Regions from separate parts of the Homo sapiens genome. Here region 1 is linked to region 2. Evidence: promoter capture Hi-C in 16 types of primary human blood cells and fetal thymus (Javierre and others, 2016). All regions are on one chromosome and are shown on one strand. The core of a region is centred on a gene start or on the middle of the fragment in contact, and the rest is flanking DNA. Distances in the headings are between cores, read along the strand shown. Region 1 holds the start of MRPS22 (mitochondrial ribosomal protein S22). Region 2 holds the start of NME9 (NME/NM23 family member 9).

Region 1 (7,238 bases), core at 424-2,923, 1.0 Mb before region 2:
AATGGTTGCTGCCACTTACAGAGCTGTCTCCTATATGGCAGGTATAACACACATTTTCAGGAATGCTTATAACCACTCACAAAATAGGTACTGATAAACCCAATTTTATAAATGAGGATGCTGAAGCCTATCCAAAGACAACTAGCTATTAAGTGATAGAGTCAAAATTTAAACCAAGGTTTGTCTGGTTCTGGATCCTAGATGGTTTCCAATTTATCATAGCGCTCCTCGGTATAAGTGGGAGGTGTGGGGAGACATAATGTGAGAGGTATGGTATACAGGAGAGGTACGGGGCTTGGGTGATTGCAGAGGAAGAAACTAAGCATAGCCTGGACTAGGGATGGGCATGACAGGGTCAAAGAAAGCGTCCCAAGAGCCTCATCACGGCAGAGAAAAAAGGGAGGGAAAGTCTAGGCTAAGAGATTGCAGCTAGGAAAGAGGCTTGGTTCACTGGACATGATACTGAAGAGGCCGTGTGTTATCATGGAAGAGCCTTTGACATAAGCAGAGAATCAAATCTTAGCTCAGCCTCATGCAGTTTGCTTATTGCTTTGCCTAACTTCTACTTCCATTTCCATTAGCAAAAAAGAAAGAAAAAGCCATTTGTTCCTAGTCACCTCTTCTTCTCCTATAAATGTTGGTATCCCTACAGATTCTGAACGATGTCCTTTTCTCCCTTCTCAGATTCTTACTCGATGATTTCTCCTATCCTGCCACGACTTCAATTACCTTTATATGCCAGAAACTCTAAAATCTGAATCTCCTGCCAAGATCACCTTCCATCCAATTACTCAACCTCTCTCATGTACTTGAATACTGCCAAGTCAGAACCCATCAACTTTCCCTTGTCTCAAACCTGCATTTTCTGTTCCCTATCTCAGCATCATCCAGTAGGCCATACAGGCCAGAAATCTTACAGCCATTCCTAAATTCTCCCTGATCCTCCAGATCTAGCCAATAGCAGTAGTAATAACAACAACAGTAATCAAATAGCTGTAGTAATAATAACAGTAATTATAAGAGCTACCATTTATTAGCTATTTACTACATGCCAATACTGACTGAGCTAAGTACTTTACACATTCAGCCCATTTAATACTCACAACAACCCATGAGGTAAACACGAAGATTATCCCAATTTTACAAAAAAAAAAAAAAAACAAAAAAAAAAACACCACTGGCAGAGAACATACTGATTGTTTGCCTTCATAAATCTCATTTTAATCCTCCATTTCCCACTGCCACTACTCTAGTCAAGGCTATCCTCATCTCTTGCATCAGCCTCCCTTTCTCCATTCTGGCCCCACTACAGATCATTCTCCACAGAGCAACCAGAGTAATCTCTTTAAAATGTAATCAAGATTACTCCCAAGCTTAAAATTCACGAATGGCTTCCAACCTCATTTAGAAAAAAAGTTAAGGTGGTCTGCTTACCTACACTATGTCTCTCACTAAGTGATGTGCTCTATGAAGACCAGACCTTGTCTTATACTCATCTCTGGCACCCAGGGTTCCTCAGGGTATCCAGCACACAGCAAGTGCTCAGCACTACTCTCTCCTCAGTCTCACCCATTCACTCACCTTTAGTTACCATTTTTACTCCGATGTTCCTCACTTTATATTTAACTCCATACTAAACAGTTGACTCTTAAAGTCACCTCAAATTTAATGTGTCCCAAATAGGTTTAATTCCGCCTCCTTTCCCATCTCCTGATCTCATCTACTCCTGCACTACCCCCGCCCCCAAAATAACGGTTCCAACAATTAATTAATCTTCTTCATCTTGGTGTAAATGGGACAACCCTCTATTCCAATCAAAAACTTAAGAAACAATCTTAATTTGTCCCTTTAAACTCATATCCAAAGCCTTAATCAAGCCTTATCAATCCTACCTCCAAAATGGGTTCCCAAATATCTGTGCTCAGTCTCATTTCTGGACATCTGCTACTGTCCCCTATGCTTGAGAAGCTTCTTGCTTTCTCCTTAGCATGGCTAACCAGATCTCAGCTTTGGTCATATTTGCCAGGAACCCTTCCCTGACCTTCCAACCTAGTTTGAGTGCCTCTCCTGTGTGCGTCCCCTATAACAACCCGGGTCACACTGCACTGCCAATTCCCCATGGACATGAGTTCCCACAGGGAAATGTCTGTGTCAGTCTTAGTTTGCCATATCCCACAGAGCTTAGCACAGTGCTCTGCACGGAGCGGAACTCAGGCACTGTAGTTGAGTGAGTGAACGAATGAACAGATATGCAGGTGATGACAAACTCTACAGGTACAGAAGGAAGACAGCTGAATCTGAGGAAGCGCTAGGATACGTGTCGCGGGGGCTATCGCGTGGTTTTCGCCTGCCAGAAACAGGATCTACGTCTCCCAGAAGAACGCCCCAGCGAAAGTCCGGAAGGTCACTTACCGGCCTCGGAGCTGAACCGGCGGCGTGGCAGCCCCATCTCGAAAGAGCAAGGTAGCGGTTGGAGCAGGCCACCGTGCCAGGGCTGGATTCGAGCCCGGAAACAGACCCGTTCCACGCCCGGAGAACTCCTCAAGAGGCTCCACAGCAATACAGTTGTTCCGAGGGGCGCCATGATTATCAGAAGCCACTTGCGCCGGAAGTGGTTGGGAGGGATTCCGAGTCACACCCAGTTCTTGCAGCACTCTGGGAAATGTAGTCTAGTTAAAGGCGGAAAGGGCCGGAAGTCTTCCGGGCCCTTATAGATTGTTTCTTCTAAACTACTTATTCACAAGTAGACGGTGTTTATGTCCTTCCCTATGCATAAAGTTAAAACTTACACCTTTTTCCCTATATGCTCTTTTTCCTACCCGTTTCCATCGTTCTAAATAACAAATTTCCGGCCAGGCGCCGTGGCTCACGCCTGTAATCCCAGCAGTCTGGGAGGCCAAGGCGGGCGGATCACCTGAGGTCAGGAGTTCGAGATTAGCCTGGCCAACATGGTGAAACCCCCGTCTCTACTAAAAATATAAAAATTAGCCAAGCATGGTGGCGGGCGCCTGTACCAGGAGAATCGCTTGAACCGAGGAGGCAAAGGTTGCATTGAGCCAAGATCGTGCCATTGCACTCCAGCCTGAGCAACAAAGCAAGACTCCATCTCAAATAAACAAACAAACAAACACTCTAGCCTGGGTGACAGAGTGAGACTCTTGTCTCAAATAAATACATAATTTATGTATTCCACTTCCTGCCCAAACCTTCTCCCCCATCCTCAGGTTTAAATCCAACTACTTCTTAAATTTCTCCATCCACACTGCTCACATGCACCCTAAATCTAACTCCTGACTCCAAGCCCTGATTACCACCACCACCACTGCCACTGCCAATTCATACACCTGATTCTCTGTCTCAACACTTATTCCTTTCCTTTATAGCCCATTTTATAATCTGTTATTTTGCTCTTTATCTGCTTATTTCTTTTTCTCACCCCATGAACACAGTGACTCTACATATTTTATTGCAATATCACCTAGCCTAGTACATCTACGTGCACAGCAAACTTTTGTTGAATAAATGAATGAATGATTAAATGATTCTTTACATTTTTTCCAGCTATCCAGGATGTGCAGGTCTTATCCTTCTCTAGACTATAGATTGGTGCCTGTGCTAAGCACTTATCCCAAGGCCTGGGAAAACAGGGTGTTAGTAAACTCTTGTTTGACTTAGCTGGATGAATAGACTCACCTTCCAGCCTCAGCTATTTTCCCCCAACTTAGCATTAATATTAACAGTGCTGTTTATGAACTCATTCCCTATTTGGGAGGGGAAGGGAGAGCACTAGGCTTGGTGCCTATTTAGGCAAGTCTGCTGCCCTGCACTTCCCAATGCTTACACCTACATGATAGCAGGTGTCAGAGACTAGTGGCAGGATGAATGCAGGTGTCTCCCAGCCCATGCCTTTTCTCTGAAAATGAACCCTCTACTTTCTTCCCATAGCTGAGGGAGCAGGCCTCAGTGGCTATGTTTTTCCTGTAAACATCCTCCTGGACACAGCTGATTGGACACTTAGTGCAGGATGAATGAATCCATTGGCTGCTGTATTAGCATTAGTTTCCTGTGGCTGCTATAACAAACTACCACAAATATTATGGTTTAAAATAACAAAAATGTATTCTTTCACAATTCCGCATGAGAAATCTGAAATCAGTATTACTGAGCTGAAATCAAGGGAGCTCTGCTCCCCTTAGAGTCTATCTCTGGAGAAGAATCTGCCCCTTGTCTCTTCCAGTTTCTGATGACTGTAAACATTCCTTTGCCTGTGGCTGCATCATTTCAATCTCTGCCTCCATCTTCACATCAGCTTCTCTTCTTCTATTTGTGCCAAATCTTCCTCTGTTTTCTTCTTATAAGGATGTATGTGATTGCATAATCACTGACCCACCCTGATAATCCAAGATAATCCCCATTTTAAAATCTTTAACTTAATCACATCTGCAAAGACCATGTTTCCATATAAGGTAACATCCACAAGTTCCATGGATTAGAGTGCAGTTATACTTGGGAGGAAGTATGGGGGCATTCTTCAGCCTACCCCAGATGACCAGGCACCAAGCAGATTTTTTCTCAATAATTCAAACTATGAGACATAGAATAGTCGACGGTGGAAGCTTGAAGTGAATAACTAAGTATTTAGGGTTTGGGCTGAAGCAGCCTTTTTCAGCAATGTGCTCACTGATGAGTGAGCAGGGAAAAGCCACTCTGCAGAGAGAGGCAGGAAAATGGAGCAGATCCTCAGAAGCAGAGATGGGAGAATATGTACGGAGAGAGATGGAGAAAGGTGGTGTCTTGGCCAGAGAGCTTCCCACTTTCCTTTCAATGACCTCTTTTACTTGGGGTACAGTGAGTTTTACTGATATGGAGTAATGAAGATTCCTGGTTTAAGCTATAACCTCAGGCAGATGCCCACATCTTTCAGAGCCCCAGTACCTCACCTGCAAAATGGGCATAATGACAATACTTATCTTGCAAACTTTGAGAATAAAGTACTTTCAGGATCTGATGTCTGGTGTTTCATAAAGATGGTGTGAGAAGGTTGTGTGGTGGCAAGTCAATTACTTTCTTTTTTTCTTTTCCGTTTTTTTTTTTCTTTTGAGACAGGGTCTTTCTTACTTTGTCACCATGGCTGGAGTGCAGTAGCATGATCTCAGCTCACTGCAACCTCTGCCTCCTGGGCTCAAGCAATCCTCCCACCTTAGCCTCCCAAGTAGCTAGGACTACAGGTGCACACCACCATGCCCAGCTAATTTTTGTGTTGTCCAGGCTGGTCTTGAACTCCTGGGCTCAAGTGATCTGCCCGCCTCAGCCTACCAAAGTGCTGGAATTGCAGGCATGAGCCATGGCACCCAAGTCAGTTACTTTCTGAGGATGGTATTCAGAAGTACTCTGGTTGCAAGAAACAAATCTTTCCTGAGTAAAACTGAAATGGGAGTAATTGGAAGGATACTGAATATCTCACAGAATTCAAGAAAAAGCTCAACAGCCAAGCCTCAGGAAGGACTTGAAAGATGGCAGCTCCAAGAACCCCAGAGGCAGGAACTCAAGAGATCTCTCCAGGAGGTTGCAGTCCTAATGGCTTGGTTCCAACTCCCTGCCTTCCATCCAATCTAAGTTCCTGGTGAGAGAGGCTGATTGGCCTGGGTGGGGTTCTGTTCACCACTGGGGGTTGGGGAGGGTTGGCCCTCTGACTGACAGTCCCAAGGCTATCTGGCTGCAGCTACTGTTAGGATTCATTAGGTCATATCTTCACCAGCTCTGTGGAGCAAGCATGGTTTTCTATTATTTGTAAAACAAAAGTATAGTGATGCCTCAGTGGGGAGTGCCTTATCCCACTCTCAGTGATTTAACAGGGTCTGGACTTCTGTTTTTTAAAAGATATATTTTATCCTAAGCTTTTAGAAGTCAAGATGGGGTTAGGGGATAAAAGTCAGGGAGAGGAATGGAGAGAGGAAGAACAGAGCCCAAGGAAGAAAGGTGACAGTCTGGACAACGCAAGAACCCCTGCGGTCTCCAGCAACCACACTCATGTGACTTCTGTAAGTCTTCAATTCCCTATCCTTGAGGCCTCCCAAAAGGTCCACATCCACCCCACTTTTGACTTCACCCAGAGTTTTTATTCTTCTGGCCCCTATTCAAAGTCCAAACCTCTTACATGTTCCTACAGAGACACAAATTCCATGGCCGAAATTCCCCTTTGTGTGCTGAGAAGGGACTGGTAGCAAGGAAAAAACCAAAGATCCAGTAACGAGAAGGGACAAGTGATGTTGTGGATCCCTGAGGAAGCTTCAGGGGATGAAGATTCTAAGTGGAGGCATTGGTAGTAGATGCAAAGGAGCCTTTGCACCAGTAGGCCAGGAGTTAAGGATGGTTAGAGTGGATACGTTTTGGGGAGAGAATCAGAGAGCCTTCCTGCCTCTCTGTCCCTTTTTCTGAGCACTGGAAAGCAAAATCATTGGTCGAGAAGAGGTACGGTTGTGTTGGGAGCTATAGGAATGAGCAGTTTGAAGTATCTGCTGGGGCTGGGCACATGGCTGGGATGCAACCTGCTGAGCAGTGGGACAGTCAGTAGCAGTGCAGAAGAGGAGATAATTCCAGAGAAAGAGGGGAAACATCAGAAGACATTCCTGGAAGCCTGTGTGAGGGTTTGCCTGAGCAAAAAAACCTTGAACAATGGTAGGAATGGTTGAAGATGTGATGGCCCAAGCCCCTTCCCTCTCACTCAGAGTGCACTGTCTTCTCATCAGCCCTGTTAGTCTTCATGGCAAATTAGTGAGGCAGACAGGGCAGGCACTGATATTCCCATCTTTTATATGCATAAACTGAGGCTCTGAAGTTATGGGTCTTGCGCATGACCACCCAATTTATTCCATGCAGTGACAAGGCTGAACTCTGAGGTACCTGGCAGCTCTTATGGTGGAAAAGCTCTGTTCTACATGTGTTCTATGGGGTGAAGAAAAACATTGACACTTCCAGAAATTACATAGACTGACTTCTGAGCCAGAATATGGCCCAAAAGAGAGAAGGAGGGAGACTGTCCTCCACCACAAGCCAGTGGGGGCGGATGAGTCAGTTCCTCTAACCCTGGAGTTATCAGTTTATCTCCAATTTTCCACGTGACACTCTGTCCTTTTTCTTCTGATAGCATCCACTGAACTACAATTCTACACCAAACTGAACACTTGAAACAGAAAATGATTGCCAGGGGCCAAGGCTACATCAGTCTGTGATGACAG
Region 2 (7,242 bases), core at 3,980-6,479:
ACTGAAGAGTTAAGTATGCTTTCTACAGAAGGAGACATTATCTCTAACTTCCAAGGCTGTAAACAAACCTTTCCTTTGCTTTAGAAGGAGATACTACCTCTATCTTTCAAGGTTGTTCACTATATAAACATTCCTGGAAAGGCTGTTGGGAATAAAGCAGTCAGTGCCTCTGCTTGAAAAATATGCAGATGCATGAGAGACCCATGGAGAAACATCGGTCAACAGGAGGGACCTATGGTCAGCTTCCTCTACAACATGTAGAAGTCTCCTTGTCATCTCCTCTGACTTCTCAGTAAGCATGAATGGTGGGCAGCATAGGGCTCATTCGTTCAGGTCATGATGGAAACCTGAGGTTCATTAAAAAAGATTCACTAGGAAGTAGCTGGGACAACCTGCCCTACAGGGACTCACAATACAGATGAGCAGTTTGATTGTAACCCCCAATGACTACTACGACACGAAGAAAATGCAACACAGTCCAAGGCAGGTTGTTAGGCTCAGACTAGCTGCTTCCATTTTATGGCTCACTATCTTGTGTTTTCAAAGTTACCCTCACAATCAACAAAGAAACTACCAGCACTAATAAGTGAGTTTAGCAAGATCTCAGAATACAAAGTCAATATACAAAAAATCAGTTGTATTTCTATGTACTGGCAGCACAAAATTGGCAATAAATTTTGAAAGTCAATTTCATTAATAATAGCATAATGAATACAAATGACTTGCAAGATTGGTTTAACAACTATAAAACATTGCTGAAGTTAAAGAATAAATGGAACACACATCCTATTTATGGACTGGAGGACTCCGCATTATTAAGATGTCAATTCTTCCCAAGTCAATCTTTAGGTTTAATGCAATTTAATCAAATTTTCAAGAGGATTTTTAAAGACAGACATATTAACAGATTGACTCTAGGATTTGTATGAAAGTAAAAGAACTTAAAATAGACAAATAATTTTGAAAAAGAAAAACAAGGTTGGATGACTTAGATTACCTGATTTTAAGACTTACTATACAACTAGTAATCAAGTACTGGTATAAGGATGGTCAACTAGATCAGCGGAATAGACTAGAGAATCCTGAAGGAAACTCACACTTACATGGCCAGTTGGTTTTTGACAAAGACACCAAATCAATCCAGTGAAGTAAAGGAAAGTCTTCTCAGCAAATGGTGCTTATGCAACCAGAAATCCATATGGGGAAATAAAAAACCTCATATCCCACTCAAATATTAATTTGAAACAAATGGTGATATACTGAGACCATGGAATACGAAGTAATAAAAAGGAATTAAAATATTGATCCACACAACAACTTGGATGAACCTCCTGGGGAGTTATGGCTTGCAATCCTTGGCTGGGAAGCTGCTGCCCAACGTATCTATACTGTGGAAAGGGGGCATGATACCTTCACAACAACAACAATAATACTGTTTTTTGGGTTTTTTGTTGTTGTTGTTGTTTTTTGAGATGGAGTCTTGCTCAGTTGCCCAGGCTGGAGTGCAGTGGTGCAATCTCGGCTCACTGCAAGCTCTGCCTCCCGGGTTCACGCCATTCTCCTGCCTCAGCCTCCCGAGTAGCTGGGACTACAGGCGCCCGCCACCACGCCCAGCTAATTTTTTTTTGTATTTTTAGTAGAGACGGGGTTTCACCACGTTAGCCAGGAGGGTCTCGATCTCCTGACCTCGTGATCCACCCGCCTTGGCATCCCAAAGTGCTGGGACTGATTACAGGCGTAAGCCACTGCACCCGGCCAACAGTAATACTGGTTTTAATGTCAAGAAACTTTGAAACGCATTACCTCTCTCCACAACATTCCTGAAAGGTAGGTCTTATTTCCCTGTTTAAAGATGAGGAAACAAGCCGGGCATGGTGGTGGACACCTGCAGTCCCAGCTGCCTGGGAGGCTGAAGTGGGAGGATTGCTTGAGCCTAGGTGTTCCAGGCACCTCGCAACATAACAAGACCCCATTTCTTTAAAAAAAAAAAAATTTAAAGATGAGGAAACTAAGACTGACTGAATAAGCTGAAGTAGCTTCACCCAAGCTTAGACAGGTAGTAGGTGTATCTGTGATCCAGCCCACATCTGTCTGACCCTAAAGTTCCCAGTTCTACCACTCCCAGCTGCCTTCCTCAGAGCAAGGCACAGGAGGGACCTGCTGTTACTTGTGGAAAAAAGAAGACATTACACCTGGAAGGAGAGAGGAGTTAGGTTAGACGAAGATGTGTATATACATTCTTATCTTCTACGATGAAAAACGGGAAGGCATCCGAGGAAGCACAGCCTGCTTTGGTCTATGATTTCCTCTTAAAGTGAGGAGGGTCATTCTTGTTTTACAGAGTCACATCAGTTCTGAAGCATTTTGATAAAGAAAATGCTCCTAGTGTCCAATTTGGGTCTCAGAAGGGTTTATTTTGAGTAAACCACCACCTTGTGGCAATAAACATGAGTTGCAGGAGGAAGAGTTTGGTTTTTAATCTTTTGAACTCTAAAACACCTCAGTAGCCCTTAAATTTAGTTAGCAGGTTTTGCATTAAAATAAAACAAACAAAAAAGTACATCACTGAGGGAAGGGCTGATTAAAAATAGATACATTTGAAAAAATCTGACTTTTGGATAATAAATAAAAACACTGACCCAGCGGGGAGCAGTGGCTCATGCCTGTAATCCCAGCACTTTGGGAGGCTGAGGCAGGCGGATCATAAGGTCAAGAGATCTAGACCATCCTGGCCAACCAACGGGGTAAAACCCCATCTCTACTAAAAATACAAAAATTAGCTGGGCATAGTGCCACATGCCTGTAGTCCCAGCTACTCGGGAGGCTGAGGCAGGAGAATTGCTTGAACGCGGGAGGCGGAGGTTGCAGTGAGCTGAGATCACGCCACTGCACTCCAGCCCAGGTGACAGAGCAAGACTCTGTCTCAAAAAAAAACCAAAAAAACAAAAACAACAACAACAAAAAAAACCATTCACCTGTGTCACAAAACATGTAAAAGATGGAAGTTTTATTAAAAAGCAGGAGTGGCCCAAGGTGATTCATCTGGGAAAAAACTGATGAGGTTCCATGTTGTCCAAACTGTAATTTTTTTTTTCTTTGAGATGGAGTCTTGTTCTGTCACCCAGGCTGGAGTGCAGTGGCACGATCTTGGCTCACTGCAACCTCCGTCTTCTGGGTTCAAGTGATTCTCCTGCCTCAGCCTCCCAAGTAGCTGGGATTATAGGCATGCACCACCAGGCCCAGTTATTTGATACTTTTTTTTAGTAGAGACAGGGTTTCACCATGTTGGCCAGGCTCCTGCCCTCAAGTGATCCACCTGCCTCGGCCTCCCAGAGTGCTGGGATTACAGGCGTGAGCTACTGCACCCTACCCAAACTGTACACTTTTGAAAGTGAGAGGGGTTGCTATTAATAATTGCATGGGACAACAGGTGAAAAGTGGGGGTGTCCCAGGCAAACTGGGACATGTGGTTTACCTAAATTTGTTTCTGAGGTTTAGCCTGGCAAAGATGTGAGTACATTTTGTAATAGAGACCACATGGTAAGAAATTTAACCCTTTCAGAAAGAATAAATGTCACTATCTTTCCATGTGCTGGCAAGAGGAATTTAGCATCTGATTTGAATTTTATTTTGGAAACTAAATTCTAAGGGAGATTCCACACCATTCAAGAGCTTCAGCAACCACCACCTTGTGGCAATGAACATGATTTGCATCTAGTCAACTCAGTTTGCAATGTGGTGTCTTAAGGACTGCCTGTGGCTCTGCGTAATATTATCATGGAACTGAATATTGCCATGGGACTGAATGCAAGAAAAGAGTAGGTGGATTCGGAGCTGAAGTGGGAGAAGGCAGGATGACAGGTAGGAAGATGTTCGGTCTCCAGTATACCCATCGCCCTGTACTTCACAGAGGGTTGCTGGGTACCTCATGGCCAAACAGGGTATCAGCACTCCCTGGATGGAAATCATTTGGTGTATGCTTCACTTAGGAAGAATTGATATCTTAACAATATTAATTCTTCCTATCCATGAACACGGAATATTTCTTCATTTATTTAAATCTGTGAGATCTCTTTCATCAGCTGTGATTGATTCCTAGTTTAATTCTATTGCAGTCAGAGAACATACTTTGTTCTATCCTTTTAAATTTGTTAAGCTATGTTTTATGGCCTAGATTGTGGTCTATCTCAGTGAATGTCCCATGTGAGCTTGAGAAAGAATCTATATTCCGCTGTTGTTGAACTAAATATTGCATAAATGTCAATTAGATCAATTTGATATTTTTCAGTTCAACTATATCCTTGCTCATTTGCTTCTGCTGGATGTATTAATTACTTTTTAAAAATGGTATGAAAGCATTCTATTATAATACTGAGTTTACCTATTTTTCCTTGCAGTTTTATCTTCTTTTGCCTCACATATTTCGGTGCTCTGTTTTTAAGTACATACATATTAAGTATTGTTATGTCTTCCCAAATAACTGATCCCTTTAACTTTATGTAATGTCCCTGTTTATACCTGATAAATTTCCTTGTTCTGAAGTCTGCTTTTCTTGAAATTAACATACCTACTTCAGCTATTTTTTTAATTAGTGTCAGCCTGGTATAGCTTTCTCTATCCTTTTGCTTTTAATGTATTTTCTTGTGGATAACACACGATTGGGCTTTGTTTGTTTTTGAAATCCATTCTGACAATCTCTTTTTTAATTGGTGTAATCAGATTATTCACATTTAAAGTGGTTATTGATACAGTTGGATTAATATCTACAATGTCTGTAACTGTTTTGTATGTGTCTCACTTGACTTTCATATCTAATTTTGAATTTGTAATTTCATATTCTTTGCCTTAAAGAGAACGCTTGCAGATCCCTCAAAACCTGGAGACACCCCCCACCTTGCACACATTATACCGGTATGTGATGGTAGAAAAGCTGCACATCAGTCTTGGCAGGCAGGGCAGGAGGGATGCAGGGATTCACAGATGCGACTGTGCAACGCACAGATGCACTGGGTCTTTGCTTGGTGGGTTCGAAGCCTCCAGACGCTGACAAACACTGCAGCCAATGAGTGGGTTCCTATGGTCCGATATGGAGGGCAAGGGGCGGGACTCCCTCCTGCCTCTCCCTGGCTGGGTTCAGAGCCTCCGCGGAGAGACTGCGTTGGGCCCAGAGTGGGCGTGGCTTACGTGTCCGCCGGCTTTCCTGGCAGGCCTGGCGGGGGGGCCAGGTTGCCATGACGACCGCGGCTAGGTCGCGGCAGACTCGGTTGGTGACTCCGGGCGCGTCGAAGATCTTGTACCTGTCGTTCGCAGTGGCTCACTTTCCCAGTAATCCATAAGAACAGCAGGGATAACAGGGTCCCATGTCGTTTTTTTGTCAGAATTCCTCGACTGGCGACCCTGTGCCCGACAGGCTGCACCGCGCCCGGCGCACTGACTCCGGCCTCTGCGCGCGCCCCCTGGCCGGCTCCGGGGTGGGGAGGGGGCTTCGCAGATCCCCAGAAAACCGCCCGGCGAGCCACGAGCCCGTGGACTGCAGGCTCCGCTTCCTCGCGGGGTGTTCACTTTGTATCAGTGTGCTGATTTGCCGCCAGTTAGAAGCACCTTAAAAAGGGGCCGGGGGCCGTAGGAGGGGGGCTTGTCTGAAGGAGGCTCTGGGCTTGCTGATCCACGCAGCGGTTTGTCGCGAGGCTGCGGGGGAACGGCCCACGGCCGCGGTAACAGGGCTTCGTCTTCTTTGCAGAGCCATGGGCAGCAGGAAGAAGGAAATTGCCCTGCAGGTAAGCCTCAAGGGGCGCTAGCTTCCAGCTCTGGGTTGGGCTCGGGGAAGAGGAGGGTGATTAGAGCGGGGTTGCAGTATAAAAGTGACATTCTGTTTGCCAGCAGTACGTGACAGTGTTCTCAAACTTGAGTGATGTACCCTTCCGTCTTAAAGGGACAAAACTTATCTTGGAACCCCAGTGATGACAAATTTTACGCAAACAAAATTAATGCAAACAAAACTGAGTAGAAGCTGTTTACATTTATAGTGCTTATACAACCATAAAACCTAAACATGCATTAAATAAAACTATAAACTAAGAAAATACGAATCAACATAACTCGATGTGACCGTTATTTTGTTCTTGTTGAAATACAACTGCAGCTTGCACAGAGAATACAGTATAGGTTCTTTTGACTTTGGGCATGAGTCTGTAACTGTGTGCTCTGTGGAGACCCAGTTTTCCCACCACTGTTCTCATCAAATTTCACTTATTAACAAATATGTTTTGAGATATATTATGTGCTGGACATATGTTATATAGAGTGTCTTACTTCATTTGCATGTGGGACAAGTGAATTCAGAAGCCAGCAGCTGCTCTTCTTCTTGGTCCTGGACAATAGATAGTGGTTGATTCTGAAGTGATGGTAAAAACATGCAGGCATAGACCCTGGAATTAGGAGAGAGTGCTTGGTCATAAGGAGATCAGCTGGATGATCTGCAACATGGGAACATTTTAAAACGAACTTAAAATGCCTCATCATCAGCTGGCCCCAGTAAGATGCATACCAAGGCTACAGCGCCTCCTAGATAATAGAGCATTAGTGGTTTTGAGACATCTGGTTTCTCTCTTATTGTCCTCAGCAGGACCAGCAGTTTGCATGTGGATTTCAAAAGCCTAGTGGTTTAAAAAAGAGGAAAGGGGAAAGCAGCATCATTCTAAGGGTACCCCATGCTGGGGGTGGGAGGGGTGTGGGGTGGGGTGGGGTGGGATTTTTAGACTGGAAGTCAGAAGACCTGATGTAGTTCTTGTGTCCTCTATAGCCAACTGTGTCTTTGACTACATCACATAACCTCTCCAGGCTATAGCTTGCCCATCTATGGAATGAGGATGTTGTGTGAATTATCCCTAAGGGCCTTCTTCCAGCCTTGATATTCTAGGATTCTAGAGTCAGAAGCCACTTCATACGTGAATGTTCTGGTTGAAGTAAATTCTGATCAACTGGTCCTACCATTCATTGCTGTGTGACTCATTTCCTCAACTCTCTGGCCTCCGTATCCTTTACGTAGACAGGAGGGATGATACCTGTCCTGTAACGCCTGCAGAGCTGTGATGAGACTCCTTTAGACACTTCCTGGCTGGTCTGATGTTGTCTGTGGTGTCTCTAATGTTATTGCCCCATATTATGGTCATTTCATGTGTTGATGCCCTAGAGCTCCTATGGGGGTAATAACTTTTGTTAGCAATGTTGTTATTTTTTCAT

Evidence for each region. Contacts are between HindIII fragments. The CHiCAGO score rates a contact against its expected background, and 5 or more counts as called.
Region 1: a fragment that was not itself captured here is called in contact with the fragment with the promoter of NME9 in region 2 in 1 of 17 cell types (total CD4 T cells); the score reaches 6.0 in total CD4 T cells.

What each region holds. Positions count from the first base shown.
Region 1 is chr3:139,339,373-139,346,610 of GRCh38, reverse strand. MRPS22 (mitochondrial ribosomal protein S22) reads right to left here and starts at 2,591. Exons shown (of 8, transcript NM_020191.4): 1 at 2,413-2,591. The coding sequence starts at 2,584. It overlaps LOC124909439, which reads left to right and starts at 5,738. Exons shown (of 2, transcript XM_047449421.1): 1 at 5,738-6,041. The coding sequence starts at 5,913. RefSeq lists enhancers at 1,984-2,103, 2,114-2,213, 2,190-2,484, 2,444-2,533. The HindIII fragment of the contact is 595 bases long and covers 1,376-1,970 here.
Region 2 is chr3:138,327,838-138,335,079 of GRCh38, reverse strand. It overlaps NME9 (NME/NM23 family member 9), which reads left to right and starts at 5,229. Exons shown (of 11, transcript NM_001349018.2): 1 at 5,229-5,777. The coding sequence starts at 5,745. LOC124909438 (a long non-coding RNA gene) reads right to left here and starts at 5,147. Exons shown (of 2, transcript XR_007096113.1): 1 at 4,910-5,147. The HindIII fragment of the contact is 16,828 bases long and covers 2,050-7,242 here.